7 separate regions of the Homo sapiens genome follow, and all the other regions are linked to region 4. The links are contacts of gene promoters, found by promoter capture Hi-C in blood cells and fetal thymus (Javierre and others, 2016). All regions are on one chromosome and are shown on one strand. Each heading gives the region's core, a stretch centred on a gene start or on the middle of the fragment in contact. The rest is flanking DNA. Distances are from core to core; before and after follow the strand shown.

What was found. The method cuts DNA at HindIII sites, captures the fragments that hold promoters and counts their contacts. A CHiCAGO score of 5 or more calls a contact.
Region 1: a fragment that was not itself captured here is called in contact with the fragment with the promoter of ENDOV in region 4 in 14 of 17 cell types (naive CD4 T cells, naive CD8 T cells, M1 macrophages and 11 more); the score reaches 14.3 in naive CD4 T cells.
Region 2: a contact is called between a fragment that was not itself captured here and the fragment with the promoter of ENDOV in region 4, in 1 of 17 cell types (M2 macrophages). The highest score is 6.1, in M2 macrophages.
Region 3: a fragment that was not itself captured here is called in contact with the fragment with the promoter of ENDOV in region 4 in 1 of 17 cell types (M2 macrophages); the score reaches 5.1 in M2 macrophages.
Region 5: a contact is called between a fragment that was not itself captured here and the fragment with the promoter of ENDOV in region 4, in 1 of 17 cell types (M2 macrophages). The highest score is 5.8, in M2 macrophages.
Region 6: a contact is called between a fragment that was not itself captured here and the fragment with the promoter of ENDOV in region 4, in 15 of 17 cell types (activated CD4 T cells, naive CD4 T cells, naive CD8 T cells and 12 more). The highest score is 13.6, in activated CD4 T cells.
Region 7: a contact is called between a fragment that was not itself captured here and the fragment with the promoter of ENDOV in region 4, in 2 of 17 cell types (M2 macrophages and M1 macrophages). The highest score is 7.7, in M2 macrophages.

What each region holds. Positions count from the first base shown.
Region 1 is chr17:80,889,806-80,892,742 of GRCh38, forward strand. RPTOR (regulatory associated protein of MTOR complex 1) reads left to right here. Exons shown (of 34, transcript NM_020761.3): 18 at 1,915-2,032; 19 at 2,924-2,937. LOC124904075 reads right to left here and starts at 2,366. Exons shown (of 2, transcript XM_047437253.1): 1 at 455-2,366. The coding sequence starts at 939. The HindIII fragment of the contact is 9,458 bases long and covers 1-2,937 here.
Region 2 is chr17:80,723,455-80,726,339 of GRCh38, forward strand. All of the region lies in intron 4 of RPTOR (regulatory associated protein of MTOR complex 1), which reads left to right. Among named protein-coding and RNA genes, the nearest start is that of RPTOR, 180 kb to the left of the region's middle. RefSeq lists an enhancer at 2,318-2,885. The HindIII fragment of the contact is 6,253 bases long and covers 1-2,885 here.
Region 3 is chr17:80,766,133-80,769,097 of GRCh38, forward strand. The region is part of intron 6 of RPTOR (regulatory associated protein of MTOR complex 1); the gene reads left to right. Among named protein-coding and RNA genes, the nearest start is that of RPTOR, 220 kb to the left of the region's middle. The HindIII fragment of the contact is 7,759 bases long and covers 1-2,965 here.
Region 4 is chr17:80,413,876-80,416,579 of GRCh38, forward strand. It overlaps ENDOV (endonuclease V), which reads left to right and starts at 1,292. Exons shown (of 10, transcript NM_173627.5): 1 at 1,292-1,375; 2 at 1,775-1,946. The coding sequence starts at 1,320. RNF213-AS1 (RNF213 antisense RNA 1) reads right to left here and starts at 1,293. Exons shown (of 2, transcript NR_029376.1): 1 at 1,054-1,293. RefSeq lists an enhancer at 1,725-1,814. The HindIII fragment of the contact is 3,926 bases long and covers 736-2,704 here.
Region 5 is chr17:80,785,409-80,788,120 of GRCh38, forward strand. All of the region lies in intron 6 of RPTOR (regulatory associated protein of MTOR complex 1), which reads left to right. Among named protein-coding and RNA genes, the nearest start is that of CHMP6, 210 kb to the right of the region's middle. The HindIII fragment of the contact is 3,482 bases long and covers 1-2,712 here.
Region 6 is chr17:80,908,639-80,911,383 of GRCh38, forward strand. It overlaps RPTOR (regulatory associated protein of MTOR complex 1), which reads left to right. Exons shown (of 34, transcript NM_020761.3): 21 at 173-291. Among named protein-coding and RNA genes, the nearest start is that of CHMP6, 82 kb to the right of the region's middle. RefSeq lists enhancers at 1,754-1,983, 2,104-2,293. The HindIII fragment of the contact is 255 bases long and covers 1,211-1,465 here.
Region 7 is chr17:80,816,056-80,819,018 of GRCh38, forward strand. All of the region lies in intron 7 of RPTOR (regulatory associated protein of MTOR complex 1), which reads left to right. Among named protein-coding and RNA genes, the nearest start is that of CHMP6, 170 kb to the right of the region's middle. The HindIII fragment of the contact is 7,384 bases long and covers 1-2,963 here.

The sequences.
Region 1 (2,937 bases), core at 228-2,727, 480 kb after region 4:
AAGGGAGGCCCCCGTACGCAGCAGGATGTGCGGCCTCCGAGGGAGGCCCCCGTATGCAGCAGGATGTGCGGCCTCCGAGGGAGGCCCCCGTACGCAGCAGGATGTGCGGCCTCCGAGGGAGGCCCCCGTACGCAGCAGGATGTGCGGCCTCCGAGGGAGGCCCCCGTACACAGCAGGATGTGCGGCCTCCGAGGGAGGCCCCCGTACGCAGCAGGATGTGTGTTCGGGAGTGAGGGAGGCCCCTGTATGCAGCAGGATGTGTGTTCAGGAGTGAGGGATGTGCGGCCCCCGAGGGAGGCCCCGTGCGCAGCAGGATGTGTGTTCGGGAGTGAGTGCTCTCTGGACATTCCCCTTGAATAACAGACGTGGCCCCTGTTGGCCTCCCCTGAATCGAAGGGCCCACCACCTCGGTGCACGTTAATCCATGCCAGCTCCCAGCTCTGGCTTTTCTCACCTGATGTCAGAAGGAAAGGGAAAAAAATCGGTGCTTTCTGAAGACAGGTGCAGCCTTGATCTTCCCTGGAAGGGGCCCAGTGGGTGTTCGCTTTGTCGGAGGCCCCGTCTCGGCAGTGCCTCACTCCTCTTGCACAGGGAAGGCAGCGGGGGTTCTGTGGTTTGCCAGGGGAGCCTGGGACAGTGACTTAGGCAGTTGGAGACGAGCGCCAGAACCGGGGCGTGGGCCATGGCCGTGAAGACGCACACTGGGCCATGGCCCTTGGTGCCCAGCAGGGTGGGAGGGGCGGGTGGAGGGTGATGCCAGGGCTCCATTCTGAGCAGTGAGAGACTTGCAGTTCCATCGGCGCAAATCAAGAGGGCGCTGCAGGCTGAAGGGAAAGTAGACGGTGCCCGCAGTTCATAGGGCAGGGAGAGTTTGGGGTGCAGGTGAAGAGCCGGCAGCTGGACAGCCAGCCTGGACCTAGGAGAGTGAGGGGCCGGCATCAGGGAAACCACAAAGCATGATAGGAGGAAGCCCGGGGCATGTAAGGCTGGGGTGGGAAAGTGCGTGTACAGAGAGTGCGTAGACGGAGAGTGGGGTGGCCACGAGAAGACCCTGGTCCCTGGTGGGCGCCCATCCAGAGCCTGCTCATCCAGCCGCTGTGGAGACAGGGGCGTCACGCGACTAGCAAGGGGTCCTCTCACAGCGCTTGGCTTTCTGCTAAGAATCCGTATTTTTTCTTTTCAGAAAAAAAAAAGGCAGAAAAAGTTGTCGTAGGGAAAAAAACGTTCTTTCCGCTTTTTAAACCTACATCCCCCTTCTGTTCCCCAGTGACTTCTAGGATCTCCAGCTGTTCCTGTCACAGCACTGAACTGTCCTAAAAGAGAGGCAAATTGTGTCTGTTCCCTTGGACCAAGGCATTTGGTCCTAAAGATGATGTTTTAGTTCTACAACTTTTCCCGTTCCCTCTTAGGGACTAGAAACATCTACCAATGAAAGTTTCACATGTGTTGAAAAGAGCAGGCTTCGGCTTGTCCGCTGCACTCGGCCCTGGGGCGCTCAGATTCAGAAAGGCCGCCAGCCATCGGGTGTGATCTAGAGCGGCGTTTTCAGCCAGGGTCCCAGTGGTCACCGTAAGCGAGAGGCTGTGAGGCCTCCTACCTTTCCCTCTCTGGAGTCCTGTGACTCACCGTGTCCTTACGAGACCCCCGATGCGTCGTGCGCCTCTAGCAGTGGGGAGGATTCTGGCAGGCATTCTGGGCTTCCCCCGTGAGCCAGTGGCCTGCCGTCTCCCAGCACTCTGCTATTCCAAGGCCTCTGCTCTGACGGTTCGAAAAGGGATGGTCCCTGTTTCTGATGCCAATTGCACGGTTTTGTCTTAACCTTTCTTTTTTCTGTTGGTGACTCAAGTCTCACTGCTGCTCCACAATCATTTTCCAGCCCCAGTGACTGTTATTGTCCCTTCTCCCTCTCGGCAGGAGCTGGTGGTGGCTCTGAGTCATCTTGTGGTTCAGTATGAAAGCAATTTCTGCACCGTGGCCCTGCAGTTCATAGAAGAGGAAAAGAACTACGCCTTGCCTTCTCCAGCAACCACAGGTATGGCGTCTTCTCCTGTGAACCCGCAGAGCACCTCGCCTGGCGGTTCTAGTGCAGGCCGCGGCCCAGTCTTGCTCACCCTCGCAGAGTCTAAGCGCAGGTTTCTCAGATACCTGCCGCAAGGGGTCCCTGTTTTTCTCATCTTTTTAGGCACCTGCCAGATTTAAAAGGGCAGGAAAGAGGGCCACACTGACCCTCTTACATTTTTCCTTTCTTTTTACCCTTTTTGGAAATTAAACTCACAGAGACCTTGAAGTATGACAAAACTTCTGCAGTAGGAGCTTGCGGAAAAGCGCAGGGGCCGTCTTCCTGCGATGAGTAATTTCATCACACTGCTCTTGGCTCCGTGGCTCGGTGAGTCATGTCAGGCGTGCTTTCTCACACGTGTCGTTTTGACTGGAGAGTACAGTTCCTATCTCATCGCTGCCGGCAGCCCCTCCCGCTTCCACACAGCCGTCTCTGCCGTGCAGGGGCTTGTCATCAGCAGTGAGGCCTCACTGCTTCTAGGAAGCCCAGGAGGGGAGAAGGGTGAGCCAGACTGAGTGTGGACGGTCATTGCTCTGCTGCGGCTTCCCGGGGAGCACGGCTCACGGCCCACGTCACCATGCACCTCGTGTGCACTCGGACAGGCCGCAGCCACCAGCCTCTCCCCTGTTGTCTTTTGTAATTTAATATGCACAGAGCCACAAGCGGTTGTTGTTTGTCCAGTGCTATCCCGCAGAGCCTCCGCTCACGTCTGAGTCTCCCTGAGCTGTGCAGCCCCTGCTCTGACATTTGTTGCAGCACAGGTAGCAGCTGCCGTCACCGAGTGTCCCAGCTGCTGAGTGTCAGAAGACACGCTGGCCTCCACCTGGAAGCCCATTGTAATTTGTCTTTCTCCTTCTTTCCCAGAGGGAGGGAGTTTG
Region 2 (2,885 bases), core at 61-2,560, 310 kb after region 4:
ACTAATATTTATTTTACTTCTTGGGTTATAATCCATTATTATTATCATTATTTATTTTGTTACTGAAATTGTTTCAACTTTGACCACTGACACACCTTCTAGCATTTTCTCTACCACAGCCCTGGATCAACCATTTTTCCAAGGATCTTTGGCTTTTTTGAGAGTGGGATTTAGAAACCAAGATGTGGCCTCTTTGTGTGCTCGTTACTACTGGAGCATTAGTGTTACTAGGCCTAGGCCCTCTCCGTGGACTTAGCTAAGTGATGCATTTGTGTGTAGTAAGCTGTAAACACATGCATATTGATTTGCGTATCTATGTACAGGTGTGGAAACTAGATTTTAATGACTAAACAGGAGGTAAGGGACTAGGGACTGGAATAGACTAATCTTTCCAGAAGTTTGGTGATACTACTGAATAACACTGTTTTTTCTAGCTTTCTCTGTAATACAATTTTTGCAATAAATACATAGAGAGCATGTGATTAGAGGAGCCTGTCTGTTGGGGAGACCTCGAAGAAAGAACAAGGCTAAGCAGGGATGTTTAGTTTCTGCAAGAGGTAACTTATGTTTGTAGATAGGAGAAAGGGGGTTGCTGAAGAAAGTATAAATCAGTGGAGTAAAGGATGAGAAATGGGAAGGTATGAGAAGATTAATTCAGGACAGAGATACAGCATTTGACTTGGCAAGCCCAAGCACTCTTCTCTGAGACGTGGGAGGGAAGGAGAGGTGAATACAAATGTGGTGGAGCTTTGAAGCTGGACATGAGAGCTGGTTCCCCTTGGAGCCTGTCTCCTGTTAAGTGAGAAGCCAGGCCATGTCCTGAGAGGTGGGGGCCATGAGTGCCAGGATGGAAGGGTCAGGAGAGAGGAGACATGGCAACCCACCCCTTCCTCATGTTTACTGCCTGGCATAGTTGGCATTTTTCTTTATGTTGAGGAAAATGCTGCTATGATCTGATTAGTAGGTGCTAAATACCCCAGTTTGTATAAAGTAGGATGGTATCTTTGCAGGGCTAATGAAATGGCCAAATCAGGTTTGGGTAAGGCCACCTGGAGATCCATGTCCTTCAGCTGATGGCAGTCTTCCTGTGTATCCCAGCTATCCACAGAGATGCTTGCGAGTTCTACCATCGCAACAGCGGCGAGGCCAGGTTCTCCCATCCCAACAGTGGTGAGGCCAGAAATTTCCAGGCTCATCACATCTACCTGCTCAGCCTGTGGTGGGTTGGAGTTGGGGTTGGGACACCCCACCTGCCCTTCCAGAGGGCGACTGTCTGCACCTGCCCAGTGTGCCCCCCGTTCCCTCCTCTGCAGTGTCAGAGCTGCTGTGCCTGGATCTGAGGAGGGGCCGTGGGAGAAGAAGCCGCCCCCACGACACTTGCGCTTGCCTTTTCAGCTGGAGCACGGGGTGGCGGCACCGTGTCGTTCTGCCCACCTCACCCACTGGGATGCAAACTTGCTGAGGCCAGGGCTTCTTCCTGCCATGCCTTGCCACCACGCCCCTTGCCTCCCCTGGGACATGCCGTTCTCTTCTTTGTACTCATCTGTTTGGTATGTGAGGGGTTTTGCGTTTTGTCTTCTGCTCTGTAATTTAAAGGGATAAAACGCTCACATTTAACTTAAGCCAAAACCCAGTTTCAGTCTTTCCACCAGAAATCCCTGAGATGTAGAATTGTGGGAAGCTCCTTGGAGGCTGGCGGGCTGCTGGGCTGCCCCTCTGTGGGAAGACAGCCTGCAGGCTTCAGTGGGCTGGGCTCTCCCGGCCATGGCTGCCTTGGTGGCTAACTCAGGCTGCGGCGACAGACTGGTGAGGCAGGCGGACTCTTCCCCTGATGTTTAATATAACCTGACAGATAAAGTGGATTGTAATGAAGAAATTATCTAAAACCCATTTCTATTTCTTTGTTTGAAAAGAAAACATGGCCTTGAATATGATTCTTGGAGAAAAAGAAGAGACGCTTTGATTAGGAATTATTCTCTGTACTTTTAGTTTTGGATCAAGAAGAAATGAAAACCATTGGCCACAAGCTCTTGAGTGTTCCAAGCAGCCTTCCGTGTATACAGGGGGCTTTTCAATTCTGGGCTGGTGTGGGTTGGTGCAGTCAGGATGACAGAGGAATATTCCACAGGACAACGAGGAGTGACTCTACTGTGGGCGTTGTTTCTGCCCCTGCAGCCGGGGCTGTGAGGCTGCAGGCTGCCCTTTGCTGGTTTGCAGGGGCCATAATTCTGGCCTGGAGCTTGACAAACGACCCAGGACCTCTGAGATGGGAAATGAGGTCTGCATCCCGTGTTCTAATCAGGATTCGCTATCAAAGGTCATTTTCCACACTGTGGCTTAATAGAGTTGGTTTTATATTCCCTGAGGGATACAGACTTCCAAATTGTTGCAGTCTCACTAACTGTAATGTATACAGCTCATGTTTGAAAGGAAATCGCCTCTCCTCCAAGGCAGCGGTTCTCAACCAGGGAAACTTTTCCCCTCAGGGGACACTGGGACATTTGGCAATGTCCAGCAACCTGGAGATTGTCACATCTAGGTGTGGGGGTGGCTGGGTGGTGCTGCGGAAGATTGTGTGGTGCACAGGGCAGCCCCACAAGGAGCGGCCCGGCCCCAAATGGCCCTGGTGCTGAGAGGGACAGACGCCGCTCACAGAGAAGCGACCACAGAGGCCCACATCCAAGCAGGCTTCCCAGAGCAGGCGGGGCTGGGAAAGCTGTTCTGTGGCGCAGCATCCCAGTGGCTGTTACGGGGTGAAAGCCCCTCTTAGAATTTAAAGTCCTAGAGCAGAGACCAACTGGGGCCATCCATGGCCCTGTGCCGTGCTGCCTCCTGGACGCACGCTAGGAGGTGGAGATGGTCCAGCCCCAGCAGGACTGGGCCAC
Region 3 (2,965 bases), core at 212-2,711, 350 kb after region 4:
GTAGTCTCAACTTCTCGGGCTCAAGCAATCCCCCCACCTCAGCCCCCCAGGTAACTGGGACTACAGGTGTATGCCACCATTCTGACTAATTTTTGTATCTTTTGTAGAGACTGTGTCACCATGTTGCCCAGGCTGGTCTCGAACTCCTAAGCTCAAGAGATCCTCCCACCTCAGCCTTACAAAGTGCTGGAATTACAAGCATGAGGCACCATGTCTGGTCCTTTTTTAAAAAATAGAGACAGGGTCTCTCCCTTTTACTTAGATGGGAGTGCAGTGACACAGTCATAGCTCACTGCATCCTTGAACTCCTGGGCTCAAGTGATCCTCCTGCTTTAGCCTCCCAAAGTGCTGGAATTCCAGGCATGAGCCACCACGCCTGATCCCAGCATGTGCGTTTTCACACTTAACATATCTGGGGTCCAGAAGCATCTTACAATAAGTAACATACCTGTTTAGTTGGCAGTTCTTTTCCTTTGTTAATAGTGTATAGAAATGCTTGCAAAGGTCCACCTAGAGGTGTGCACTGTACCCTTTCTTACTGCTGTTTGTAAGCTCACTGTTTGTCACTAGGGAAAGAAACAGGCACCATTACTTAACTAGGTGTTCATGTACCGGCAATAATTGATCTCAAAATTTAATGCTATTTGTAGTTTTTAATTAAAAAACTCTCAAATGTATGGTCTAAGTTTTTCTTTAAGTCCAGAAAAAAAAGAATACATTAAACCCTAAGTAAGTAGAAGAAAAGAAATAATAAAGAGAAGAGCAAAAATAAACAGAAGTTGACCCCAAAATTTGTAAAAATTCATGAAACTAGTTGATAGTTTTTGAAAGGTTCATTAAAATTGTCAAAACTTTTTCTAGAGTGCTCAAGAAAAATAGAAGGAAGATACAAATGACTTTCATCAGAAATGAAAGAGGGCACATCCTTACTGATCCTACAGATGTTAAAAGAATAAGGGGCCAGGTGCGGGGGCTCATGCCTATAATCCCAGCACTTTGGGAGGCCGAGGCAGGTGGATCGCTTGAGCCCAGGAGTTCAAGACCAGCCTGGGCAACATAGCAAAACCCCATCTCTACAAAATATAAAAATTACTCGTGCGTGGTGGCATACGCTTGTAGTCCCAGCTACTTGGGAGGCTGAGGTGGGAGGATCACTGGGAGGCATTGAGGCTGTAGTGAGCAGTGCAGTGATCACGTCACTGTGGTCCAGCATAGACCACAGAGTGAGACCCTGTCTCCAAAAATGAAAATTATAAGTAAATAAAAGGAGAATAAGGGAATCATTTTAATCATGAAGGACCATATGCCAGTAAATTCTTCATCTTAGATGCAATGGATAAATTCTGTGAAAGACACAAGTTATCAAATCTGACAGAAGAATAAAAAGAAAATTTGGATAGGATATATCTGTTAAGTAAATTAAATTTCTGGTTAACAACCATTCAAAGACAACCCCGCACCCAGATATCTTTACTAGTGAATTTTACCAAACCTTTAAGATGAACAGAATAGACAGACAACCTTTGTGAAATGTTTAAATATCTGCTGACCATATTAAGTTGCTGTCCCAAGGCTCGGTGTAATTAGTAATGGTAAAAGCTAAGAAAATCTTTACAAGGTTACTGCCTAACTGTTGACTAATTTGACCAAATTTTATGCACCTGGGGCCTTTTACAAATCAGCTTACTTCCCTAAGAAAAAGTGTTACTTGAATTTTTTTTTTATGATTTTATTTTATTTTATTATTTTTGAGACAGAGTCTTGCTGTGTCGCCAGGCTGGAGTGCAGTGGTGCAATCTCAGCTCACTGCAACCTCTGACTCCCTGTTTCAAGTGATTCTCCTGCCTCAGCCTTCTGAGTAGCTGGGATTACAGGCACGTAACACCATGCCTGGCTAATTTTTGTATTTTTAGTAGAGATGGGGTTTCACCATGTTAGCCAGGATGGTCTCGATTTCCAGACCTCGTGATCCGCCCGCCTCGGCCTCCCAAAGTGCTGGGATTACAGGCGTGAGCCACCGCGCCTGACCACGTGAATTTTTTTTTAAGAGCAGCTTGCCTTTATATTTTTGGTTCACGTTGGGACTTACCTTCTAGTCATTTACTGTTGGCTCACATTTCCTCTTCTCCCATGTCTGTCTAACGGGAGAACCATGGAGTGCGTGATCTCACTTGGGGTCTCAGTAGGCCGCTTAGTGAGTCCCAAAGACTTTTGTGAGAGTTTGAATGCATCCGTGTGTAATGTATCTGGAGGACTCAAGGGTAGCAAGTATACACAGAGTATCCTTTTAACATAAAAGGAGCATTCAGAAAAGAATTAAGACTGTGCAGTTCAGCCCACAGTTGGGCTCTCATAGCTACTGAGTTATTCATGTAATCCTCGGAAATCAGCTTGGGTGAAATACTGCACGGGAAAGAGTGCTCAGCCCCGGCCTCACTCCTGCCTGTCCCAGGCCTCCTCACTGTCCGTGTCTCATGGGAAGAAAGTCATTTGTTGTCTCCTGCTTGATGTCATCATCACTATGTTCCAGATTAGCTTCAGGACTTGTTTGAAATCATACCTACTAATCGACTGACTTATATCCCCATCACACGGTGACATATTAACTGCTTATTTGCCTCTTTGTATCTTCTTCTTAAACTTCTGGGCATTTTAGTGGCAGTTTGGCTTCTTGTTTGATTTATGTGCCTAAGCGTGCTCATGCCTCCATATTTAATCAGTGACGTTAGGTCACATTGCATGCAAAAACTGTCAGTGCATTCAGCTCCGTATTTAATAGCAGGCATTCATGACCCTTTTTTAAATAAAAAAGCGATCATTTGATTTGTGCTAAACTGGACAGTATATTGCGGAAGCCATTTTCATCCTCATTTTACTTGTGCTGAGATCGAATCGATAATGCCTCTTGATGGCATCATTGTTGGAACGCCAGAACCGTGCTGTCACATAGACCTGTATGGAGGGT
Region 4 (2,704 bases), core at 42-2,541:
CTTCCCGGACAGCAAGCCATACTGCCTAGATCCCTCCTGCCCAGGCCTATGAGTACCCCAGCCTGTAATCGCTGGTGGGCTCTGGCATTAAGCTGGCCCCCGACAGGTGTTTGCAATACACCTGTGTTGCTGTAGAGCCGCCCGCGCGCCGGCAATCTCACTGTGCGTCATTCTTTAACCTTCACCTTCCCTTCAAAACCTAACACCCTTGACGTTTATATTCAGGCTATTATATATACATACACACATACACCCTTCTGAATCCTCCCAGGAGAATATAAAACCATGGGTTAAACTGCTACACTTCAGCTTCAGTGGCTGCCTTTCAGTGCTTCAAATACACCAACCTCTTTCCCACCCCGGGACCTGCACGAGAAAGCTGCTCCACTCACCCGCCGTGCTCTTTCACTCACCCTTCAGGTGTCTTCAATATCGCCTCTCAGGCCTTTCCCAACCACCGGTTTAAAGTCGGCTCCCCACAAATAAATACATATTCTCCCTCACAGTACTTCGCACAACACCTGGCACAGCGAGAGCACTGAACCAACACTCATTCAATGAGGAACACGAGGTAAGAACCAAGACCCCCCAAGGTCGCCGTACTTTGTCTGGTAGGAGAAGCTTTCTGCCCAGCAAGGTCCGACCCAGATGAAACCCCGTCCAAGTCTGCAGCACCCCCGTGAGTCCAGCCCGCTAAACTGTGAAGAATTTAAATACACGACACCTGCCCTCAAAAGCTTGAGGGCACCCCTGAGCTGCCATCGAGGTGGGGGCGTCAACGACAGGCGCTCAGTAAGTGCTCCTGAGGCAACTGCCGGGCTGTCCTGGACCTGGTGAATCCTTTCGGGGTTCAGCAAAGGCGGACGCTGACCGGGCCAAGGAGTGGGACCTGCAGTGCTGGACCACCCTTTTCCAAGCGCAGAAGTGCCGTGCCCGCCGGCTCTCAACAGGGCAAGAGGCCCCTCTCGCCGTGCAGAGCGCAGCGCTTGCGGCGGGGACAGCAGAGGCGGGACGGGCGTCACGGAGTTCCCGGGTCCTCGCGCGGTCACTTACCTGGCCTCAGCTATCCGCTGAAAAAGGGGCGGACGGCCTCCCGGGATCCGAGCCGATATCGCGCGCGGCGCCGCGGGGCAACCTGAAGCCGTGTGCGTGCGTGTGCGTTCACGCAGGGGCTCACCCAGCGGCCACGGGCTTCTGAAGACCCGGGTGGGAAGTGCGGCCCGGGAAAGCGCAAGCGTCTCCATGGCAACGAGGGCGGACGGCGTCAGAGCGAGTCGCTTCCGGAAGTGACGTGCGGAAGGGGTGCCCGGGACGAAGCCATGGCCCTGGAGGCGGCGGGAGGGCCGCCGGAGGAAACGCTGTCACTGTGGAAACGGTAATGCTGTCAGGCGACGCGCAGGAGGCGGGGGCCGAGGCCGGGCGGCCCTTCGCGGACCCTCCGAGCTCATAGTCTTCAGGCTGTGGAATCGGAGCTGCCACCGCCCGAGACTCCAAAGCAAAGCCCAGTTTCCGGCGCGGAAGCGGAGGGATCTCAGGAATTGTAGTCCGCGGGGTGGGCGCGGTTCTCGCTTCCGGCCAGTTTGTCTGGCCTGCGCTTGCGCGGGTCTCCGCCGCCTGGGCTCCTAGGGACTGTGGCCTCGGCGGTATGTCCCTTGCTTTCCCTTGAAGCGGGAGAAGACCCGGCAGAGGCGCTCTGTCCGCTGCAGCCGCGCGGGTGGAGGAGGCAGAGTCTGAGGTGTGACCCCGACCAAGTTTGACGCTTCTGTCCTCCTAGGGAGCAAGCTCGGCTGAAGGCCCACGTCGTAGACCGGGACACCGAGGCGTGGCAGCGAGACCCCGCCTTCTCGGGTCTGCAGAGGGTCGGGGGCGTTGACGTGTCCTTCGTGAAAGGGGACAGTGTCCGCGCTTGTGCTTCCCTGGTGGTGCTCAGCTTCCCTGAGCTCGAGGTAACCTGGGAGGACGCCGAGCTCGAGGCGGGCCCCTCGGTGGGCTCGGGCGTGCGGTCTCCGGGACAGGGAGCAGTGCAAGCGTAGAACCCGGCTTCTCGTTTTGTAGGATGTCATTAATAGTCTGGGGAGTTGGCCGGGCGCGGTGGCTCACGCCTGCAATCCCAGCACTTTGGGAGGCTGAGGCGGGGGAATCACCTGAGGTCGGGAGTTCGAGACCAGCCTGACCAACATGGAGAAACCCGGTCTCTACTAAAAATACAAAATTAGACGGGTGTGGTGGCATATACCTGTAATCCCAGCTACTCGGAAGGCTGAGGCGGGAGAATCGCTTGAACCCGGGAGGCGGAGGTTGCGGTGAGCCAACATCACGCCATTGCACTCCAGCCTCGGCAACAAGAGCGAAACTCCATCTCAAAAAAAAAAAAAAAAAAAAAAAGTCTGGGGAGTCTTGGAAGGGAAAAAAAGGCAAAAATTAAGGGAATTCTGTGACTATTAAGAATCAGCTCATGAGCTTTATCTTCAAGTCTGATTGTTATCTTGGGTTCTTCATCTCAGTGACCTGTCCACCACGCTCCCAGTTGCCCAAGCTGGAGATCTGCATCCTCCTGGGCCCCTCCGTTCCTCTCGCGTCCAGTTGCACACTAGCTCGCTTTTATTCTGCCTCTTAAATGTCGCTGGAATCTGTCCCCTTGTCTGTTTCCCCTCTGCTCCTTCCCTGGCTGTGCCACCATCACTCCTGTGGGTTCCTGAGCAGC
Region 5 (2,712 bases), core at 213-2,712, 370 kb after region 4:
ATATCTTGATGAACAAATAAAAGGTTGGCAGTTTTAAAAAGAGGAGAACTGTTTCGTGTTGCTCTTTGAGAAGGTTCTTCGGCACTAGTGAGGTTTCTGGGGAGCTGGCAGGTTCCCGACTGGTGAGTGGGTGAAATGAGTCCTCGAATCACAGCAGGTTGTGTCGGTTGCCATTAGTGAAAACTGGTTTCAAGTGGCAGCAGGCAGTTTCCGCGGCCAGGCTGGCAGAGAACTACATTGCTGGAGGAATGTTTTGTGGCCCGAGTGCTTTCCCCCGGCCCCTTGACTCTGACTGAGTTGGGTATGACAAGAATGACCCAGTTTGTATGATCAGCTCTCACAGTGACAATGACAGTCATGATGGGGATGTGTTTTGAGGGCCTTTTCCTCTCCTTTGCCGAGGAACTGCACAGGGAATGCTGATGGCGAGACCTCCAGGGAAGCCACTTATGTCTTCACCACTAGAGAAGGGGGGACTCTGCATGTTGGCGAGAGCAGGGGGGTGCCACACTCCAGCACATCGTGTGTTCACCTTCTAACCGGGAAGCTCTCCTTGTTCAGGAGTTTTCATAGAGCGTCTGTCCATGGGGAGAGGAGTGGCTAGGTGGGGTGGGTGGTGGTGTCCCGGAACCAGTCCCCCAGGGATACCCAGGGATGACTGTATATGCCCGGACCAAGTCCTGAAGGTCATAGCAGAGGCCGCTTCTGCACAGTGGGGTGGGAGAGTGAAAGTTAGACTGACGCACTTTTGCGTGACACATGTCTGTATGATTTGGGTTTTTATAGTGACCGCCATTTGCTTTTATTCTAAAATAAATCAGCATGATTCAGTGTTGTGTAAAAGATAAATATGAAAATGCTAAGCTATCTCAACATGGTGGGTTTATACAAATTTTTCACTTTTTTATGGTAAATACATGTGGGTTTTTTTTTAATTAGGAGGAAACAAAGGAATTTTCATTCTCAAAAATGAAAACAGCATTCAATAGTTATTTGTATGATATTTGACAAGGTTACCGAGCTGAACATTAATTTGTTCTTCATTGTTAAAAGAAAACTCTAGGCAAATTGAATACAACAGAGTTTAATTGAGCAAAGAACCATTCTTGAATCAGGCAGCCCCAGAACCAGAGTAGGTTCAGAGTGACACCGGCACTGCCATGTGGCTGGATACCATTCATGGGCAGAAACGAAAGTGACTCCGGAGAATGGAAGAGCCGCAGCAGCTGGATTGGCTACCGCAGGGGGTCTGCCTTGCTTGAGCCCAGTTCGAACAGTTGGCTGCCTGTGGTAGTCTGAGACTCAGCTGCCTGTCACAAGACCAGGCTGTTTATACATCAGGTTGGGTTACAGTTCACCATGTATATGGAACCATTAGGCCAAACATAAAACATGTACGGAGGCAGCCTTTAGGCGAAACTTAATTTAACATCATAAAAATCTTGAAGCCACTTGTTTGCGTACCCAGCCTGGATCCGTCACAATTCTTGCTTCATGCCACACTCATCACTAGTCCATATTTGGCCTCCTTTTAAGCAGTTAATTAACAGGTATTTTTATAGCATAATGGGTTTCCTCAAACCACCACCCAACCAAAACCCAGCCCTTGATGATGACCTGCGCCCACCACGCAGGGCGCCCTTGATGCACACGCACCTGCCGCCCCCGCCCTGTGACCACCGCCCTGAGTGCCGGGCTCATCATCCCTTCCATGCCCTTTCTACATTGCTACTATGCATCTGTGTGTATTCATTAAGACCATTACTTTTCTTTCAGATTTTAAATTTATTAAAGGCTTTAGTGCTGAATGTGATTTTGAGGACTCTTTTAAAAAAATACTTTTGGTTGGAATGTGGACATTTCCCACTTAGCATTGTGTTGCTCATGTTCCTCCATATTGATGTGTGTTTAGCTAGAGTACCCCCGTCTAACTCTGCGAATATGCCACACTGTGTGCACCTGCTACTCCTTAATGGACACTTGAGCTTTTTCAGCTTCTTCCTTTATTTGTTTGTTTTGCTTTGCTTTGGTGTATTGTATTTTATTTTTGCTATTACCAACAGAGATACTTTGAACATTCTTTTCTGTGTGTTCTTTTGAACACATGCAAGAATTTCTTATATATTGAAAAGCAGAGTTGCCGGATCATAGTGTATAGGAACATTCAGTTTTAAGGGATCATGGTAAGGTGCTTTCCCAGTGGTTGTGCCATTTTACACTCCTACAGTGGTGATGGAGACAGCCTATGATCCACATCCTTTCTAGTTCTTGGCATTGCCATTCTTGTACATTTTTGCTGAGTAGGTTTAGAATGATATCTCGTGTAGCCTGGATTTGCGTTTCTCTCATATCGCATGATGTTGAACATTTCCTCACGTTCAGTGGCCATAGTTATGTCCTCATCTTTGAGATGTCTGTTCATCCATTTTTCTATTGGATTTTTAATGCTCTTGTGGATTTATATCTAGGTTTTCAATCCTGGTTATGATGGATATTGCCCCCACCTTTTTGCTTTTCATTTTAGGACGACTACAAATGTTAACAAGTTTGTGTGTCATCATTACTTCATAGATCCCCTTCAGCGTCTCTTGGAGTTTTCTCCCCTCTAACTTTAGCTTGTCATCTGAAAGTGTCTTCCTCATGAGTCTTTTTGTGACAAGTCTTCTGAGGCCATATGTGCCTCTGAGAGTATTTTTGTCATGCTCACACATT
Region 6 (2,745 bases), core at 88-2,587, 490 kb after region 4:
TCTTGAATCTCGGGACCCGTTGCCAGAATAACAAAATGGGGGCTTCCTGTAACCTCGGCTCTTTAAAGCAACACTTCTGATACCAGGGTTAGGGTTTCAGAAAATGCAGCCGCCTTAGGAGCCTCATTGGCAGCTACTTTCCACTAAAACATCTTCCATTTCTCTCTCTCAGGAGTTTCCTTTAACAGTGTTTACACTCAGATTTGGAGAGTCCTGCTGCACCTGGCTGCTGACCCCTATCCAGAGGTCTCGGACGTGGCCATGAAAGTACTCAACAGCATCGCCTACAAGGTACGTGCCGGGCGCTCCCCACCGCGCTCCAGCTGCTGGTTCTCGGTTACGAGTATGCATGCCAGGAACTCCAGGTGTGCCCGGGTCCACACCACAGTTTAGAAAGTAACAAAACGAGCTTCAGCAAATATCTTAAATCTGGAGATGTACACAGTACACCCCAAACTGTGTCTGTGCAGCTCCCACGTGGGCAGAGGGTGCTGGATTTACTGATGCCTGTCAAGGCAATTAGGGGAGGACTGACATTATCTTTCAGGATCCTCTGGTGTCTGGGTGAGCTACAGTGCTGGCCCTTCTTCCATTTTTTTTTTCTTTCTTTACTTAATTATTTATAAGAGATGGGGTCTCCCTGTGTTGCCCAGGCTGGTCTTGAACTCCTGGGCTCAAGGGATCCTCCTGCCTCAGCCTCCCAAAGTGCTGGGATTACAAGCGTGAGCCACTGCACCTGTTTTTTGTTTTTGTAAGACAGTCTCACTCTGTCCAGACTAGAATGCAGTGACCTGATCACGGCTCACTGTAGCCTCCAACTCCTGGGCTCAAGCAATCCTCCCACCTCAGCCTTGGAAGTAGCTGGGACTACAGGTGCACACCACCACACCCGGCTAATTTTTAAATTTTTTGTAGAGACAGAGTCTCAGTGTGTCGCCCAAGCTGGTCTCTAACTCCTCAGTTCAAGTGATCCTCCTGCCTTGGCCTCCTGAAGTGCTGGGATTACAGGCATGAGCCACCACACCCAGACTTTTCTTCCCTTTCTGATAGCAGTAATTTTTGACTCATTCAAAACCCTTCTAGTTAATGGTTTCTTATTCATGGCCATTCTAGCTCAAGGGAACTTTTCAAAGAATCAGTTTTTGGTTTCATTGGTTTTTCTCTGTTGTTTGTCCATTTTCCATTTGATTGATTGAGCTTTCATCAATAAAGCTTGCTTTCTTCTGCTTACTTTGAGTTTAATTTGCTCTTCTCATCCTAGTTTCTTAAGGTAGAAGCAGAGGTCATTGATTTTAGTCCTTTCTCTTTGGGGACTGTAAACTCTTCTCAGTCCCTTTTGTGAGCTCTGGGCATTTGGCCTACCGCCTTCCCGCTGTTTTTTCTCTGCCTCATGGGTTGTCACTCTACCCTTGAGCAGATGAATACTTAGTCAAAGACCCCAGGGGCCTCTCCTGCAGACCTTGGAAGCTTTCCCCTCTCCAGTGCTCTGTCCTGCAAATTGTCACCACCTCAGCCTCCCTGGAGCCCCAGTCTCTGTCTCCTGTTCCCTGAAAGTGCTGGGCTCCCCGTCTCTGCACTGTGGCCTGGGACTGCCTGAAACTACCTGCAAGCCGGACACAGGGCAGCTGTTTATTTCCGTTCTCTCAGGGATCACAAGCCCGTGACACCCAGCACCCAGTGTCCAAAAACAATTGTTTACGGTATTTGTCCTGGTTTTCTAGTTGCTTATGGAAGTTGGATGATTTATGTGGAATTAGAAGTCACTCATTATAGCACTTAAAAATTTTTTGGTAACTTTTTGATAAAACTTCAAAAGCTTACAGAAATGTTGCAGGAAGAATGCAGGGAAAGGCCACACTCTTGCAGCCTCTGTGGTGTTCTACGTCTTCATCTGACCTCGTCACGGCTATGGCGTTGCCTCGGGTATCACTCAGTGCCAGGGTCTGCAGGGTCGAGGAGCCACGGCTTCCCATCCTAGTCCATCGCTTTTTCCAAATGAGCTATCGAGTCTCCCCCTCTCATTTGCTGTGGCCTTCTGGGTCCTGGCCGGCCATCGAGCCAGGGTTCCTGCAGCTCCTCAGCTCCTTTTGCTGATATTATACTTCTGTGGCTTTCGGTTCCTTCAACTAAGTTATTTTCTGTTGGTCTAGTTATATCTTAGATGGAAATCACCTTACCGTCTGCAGTTGGTTCTTCTTCAGTTCTTTTTTTTTTTTTTTCTCTTGCTCTGTTGCCAGGCTGGAGTGCAGTGGCACAATCTCAGCTCACTGCAGCCTCCGCCTCCCAGGTTCAAGCAGTTCTGCTGCCTCAGCCTCCCAAGTAGCTGGGACTACAGGCGTGAGCCACCACACCCGGCTAATTTTTGTATTTTTAGGAGAGACGAGGGGTTTCACCGTGTTGGCCAGGATGGTCTCGGTCTCTTGACCTCGTGATCCGCCTGCCTCGGCCTCCCAAAGTGCTGGGATTACAGGCGTGAGCCACTGCGCCTGGCCTGTTCTTTATGGTATCACCGGTATAGTCACAAGTAGCCTATTGGCCAACTTGGAAAGGTCCAGATTGTTTAATTCTGCACCGGCCTCCCCTCCTGCAGCGGACTCTGCCACTTCCTTCGTCACCGCATCCCTGCAGCGGATTCTGCCACCTCCTTCGTCACCGTGTGGTGTGGCCAGCTGCACGGGCACCTGGAGACGTTCATCCCCAGGCAGCAGGCCATCTCCTCAGGTTTCTTTTATGTGCTACTGGCCT
Region 7 (2,963 bases), core at 130-2,629, 400 kb after region 4:
TCACTCCTCCAGCCAGAGGAGTTTTGCTTTCCTTTGTCCTGCATAAGATTTTGTTTGAGTAGCTAAAAAGTAATGGAAAACCACCACAATGATCAGTGGAGAACCTTGTATGTTTGGGGGCCCAGCTGTGTGTTAAGAGCCATCAGCCTGTGTAGCGTGAGCCAGGGCAGAAGGGCCTGGCCCGAGAATGCTGTCTGGACGCCTGGCAGGCCTGGCTGCAGGGTGCCGCAGAGGAGGTGGGAAGAGGCATCTTTGGGAGGCCTGGCTGGCCCCAGTGCAGGACCAGAGAGCAGCTGAGGGCCTGGGGCCTCCGGGGTTTCGAGCCTCAGTGAAACGCGAATCCACAGGGACTCTTGGAGTGGGGACCAGCAGTGGAGAAGATGGAGGCATTGCACTTGATTTTACACACGTTCCGCTTGAGCTGTGATGCCAGGCAAGCCGAGGGTGAAGGGAAGCGCCTTGTCGTGAGACCTGGAAGGAGCAGGGCTGCCGCTGGAGCAGATCCTGGGGTGTGAAAAGAGCTGGCGACGCAGTGCTCCCAGAGGTCACTAAGGGAGGAGCCGGGTGCCAGGGGAGAGACAGTCAGGATTTGCAGATTCAGCAAATGAAGAAAGGCAAGGCTGGCCAGCCACTGGAGTGAGGGGGCTTGGGAGGAGGTGGCTTGGAAGGGCGGTGAGGACAGAAACCAGCTTTCGCATGGCAGGTAAGAGGAGCCTACGGGGGCCAAGGAGAGCTTAGCTAGTGCCAGCTTCAGGGCCACATGGGTTTTCCCCAGGGTAGACAGGCATAAGGCCCCAGCGGCCACTGCATGTTGAGCCCCAGCAGCCAGTGGTCTCCCCGGCCCATCCCTGGTCCTCCCATTCCTGCGAGGCGGCTGCGGGGTCTGGGTCTGGTTTCTGCCACTTGTCTCTAGTGGAAGACACACCCTCATAGAGCCTCAGTTTCTCCATCTGAAAAGCAAGTGAACATAAGACCTGCCTGGCGTGGGCATTGGGAAGGAAGTCTTGGTGGACTTGGCAGGTGGGTGACTTGGGGGCCTGGGTCCACCGAGCCGCACAGCGGGAGGCACGGCATGAGTGCCCAGCTGGCAGCGGTGGTGGAGGTAGTGTAAATGTTCATGCTGAAGAAAATCCAAGCCTCTGAGAGGCTGGGCAGCTAGTCCACAGTCACAGAGCCAGTCTCTGGCCAAATTCAAGCCCCCGTCTGTCTGGCTCCCAAGTTTAGGCCTGGAAGTGAAGGAAAAGGAAGGCTGGGGGTTCTGCAGGGGAGACATCCTGATGACCTCACAGCCCCTTGTCCTTGTCCTCTGCATGGATGGGGCCAGGGACGGCAGTGAGGCGGCCACCCCATGGGGAGGAGATCATGTGTTGCGTCTCCTGAGTGCAGACGGAGCTGAAGGCGCCCCCGAGAATCCAGGTGAGAGCAGGAACCTGGAGAGACTGGGAGGCAAGCACCTGCCACGTGGGCACCTGTGAGTGAACCGGGGAGGGACAGGGCCCCAAGGAGTGGGTGGCACCTCATGCTGGAAGTGGGGAGCAGGCAGAGTGATGGGGCAAATGACAGGGAGCCGGGCAGGTCCGGGAGAAGGGGTGGGGGAGGGAGCACCCTTGGGAGAGTGACTGTGATGGGCTGTGATCCCTCAGGCATCTGGTGGAGAATCAAAGGCGAGGGCTGGAGACACAGCAGCTCTTGTTGAGTGACAAGTTCCCAGCAGAGGGTGGTGGTGGGGACAGCCAGGGGTGTCAGGGAAGAAGAAGGGGCCTTAGGGGAAGGGCACCTGCTTGGCATTTCGGAGCTGGCCTGGCACTCTACAGTGGTTGCACAAATGGGGTGTGGATGCTGAAGTTCTGCCAGAGTCTAGCAGGGCCGGGGTCATCATGATGACCTGGATGTTGCAGTAAGGAAGATAAATCCTGGCAAGAAACCGCATGCCACAGGTGAGCCCGGAAGTGTGGGGGAAGGTGGAGATAAACCCTCCTGCCAATGGCAGTGAAGGAGAGTTTGAGGAGGCGCGGGCCCTGTTGGGGGGCCACCCCGGCATCTGCCACATCTGTTGTTGGAGTGTCATCTGTTTTATTTTAGTCGCCATTTTGCATCAGGGTCAGCTGTGTTGACTCAGCAGAGAAACAGGTACCACGAGTCATCCAGCCATAGCACGGCTGGGACCAGCGCTTGAGTTTTCTTGTCTCCCAATTCAGGAGTCTTTTCCTGAACTGTAGCTTTTTACAGTTTTCACATAGAAGTCCTTGATTAACACTCTGAATTTAAATTTTAAAAGAGCCACCTTGATCATTAACCCTTTGAGGGTTCAGAGAAACTTCTAGAATGAAACATGGTCTGACATGGACAACATACACCAATAGGCTTCTTCTGTGGTCCCCTCGTGATCTCAGTGGCCTCCCGAGTTGGGCAAGACTCAGCATTGGTTAGGATCAGGTACAGAAAGGAAATCAGAAACAAATCGTTTCTGCAAGGATTTAATTTTATGTGACGTGAAAAGTGAGGGATGCTGGACTCGGTTCCACCTTGTCACCCCCAGTAGGACCAGGCCTGCTGGATCAAGAAGCCTCATCAGCTTTTGCTCACTGGATGGTTGGTTCATCGACTTGAATGATTTCTGGGTCTGTCTGAAGTCGGCTGGGCAGATGACTCTGTCTGGTTTCACGATGAGCTTAGGGAAGAGACCAGTGGGATTTTCAGGACCATGTTGGGAGAGTCTAGCTTTGCATTTATTTACTGGTGATCATCACAAGATACCAATTTGTAAAAACACAACTAAGTACACACTGGTCCTATCTGGCCTCCGTTTATCTTGATGGCTTGGCCATCCAGTGACAGTGCTGGGGTGTGGGACCTCGTGGGAAGCTCTTTGCTGCTCAGAATGCAGCTTTCTGTTAACCAGTGGTCACAGACTCGGGAACAGCAGGGGCTCTATGAGCTTCAGTCGATTCAGGATACGTGGG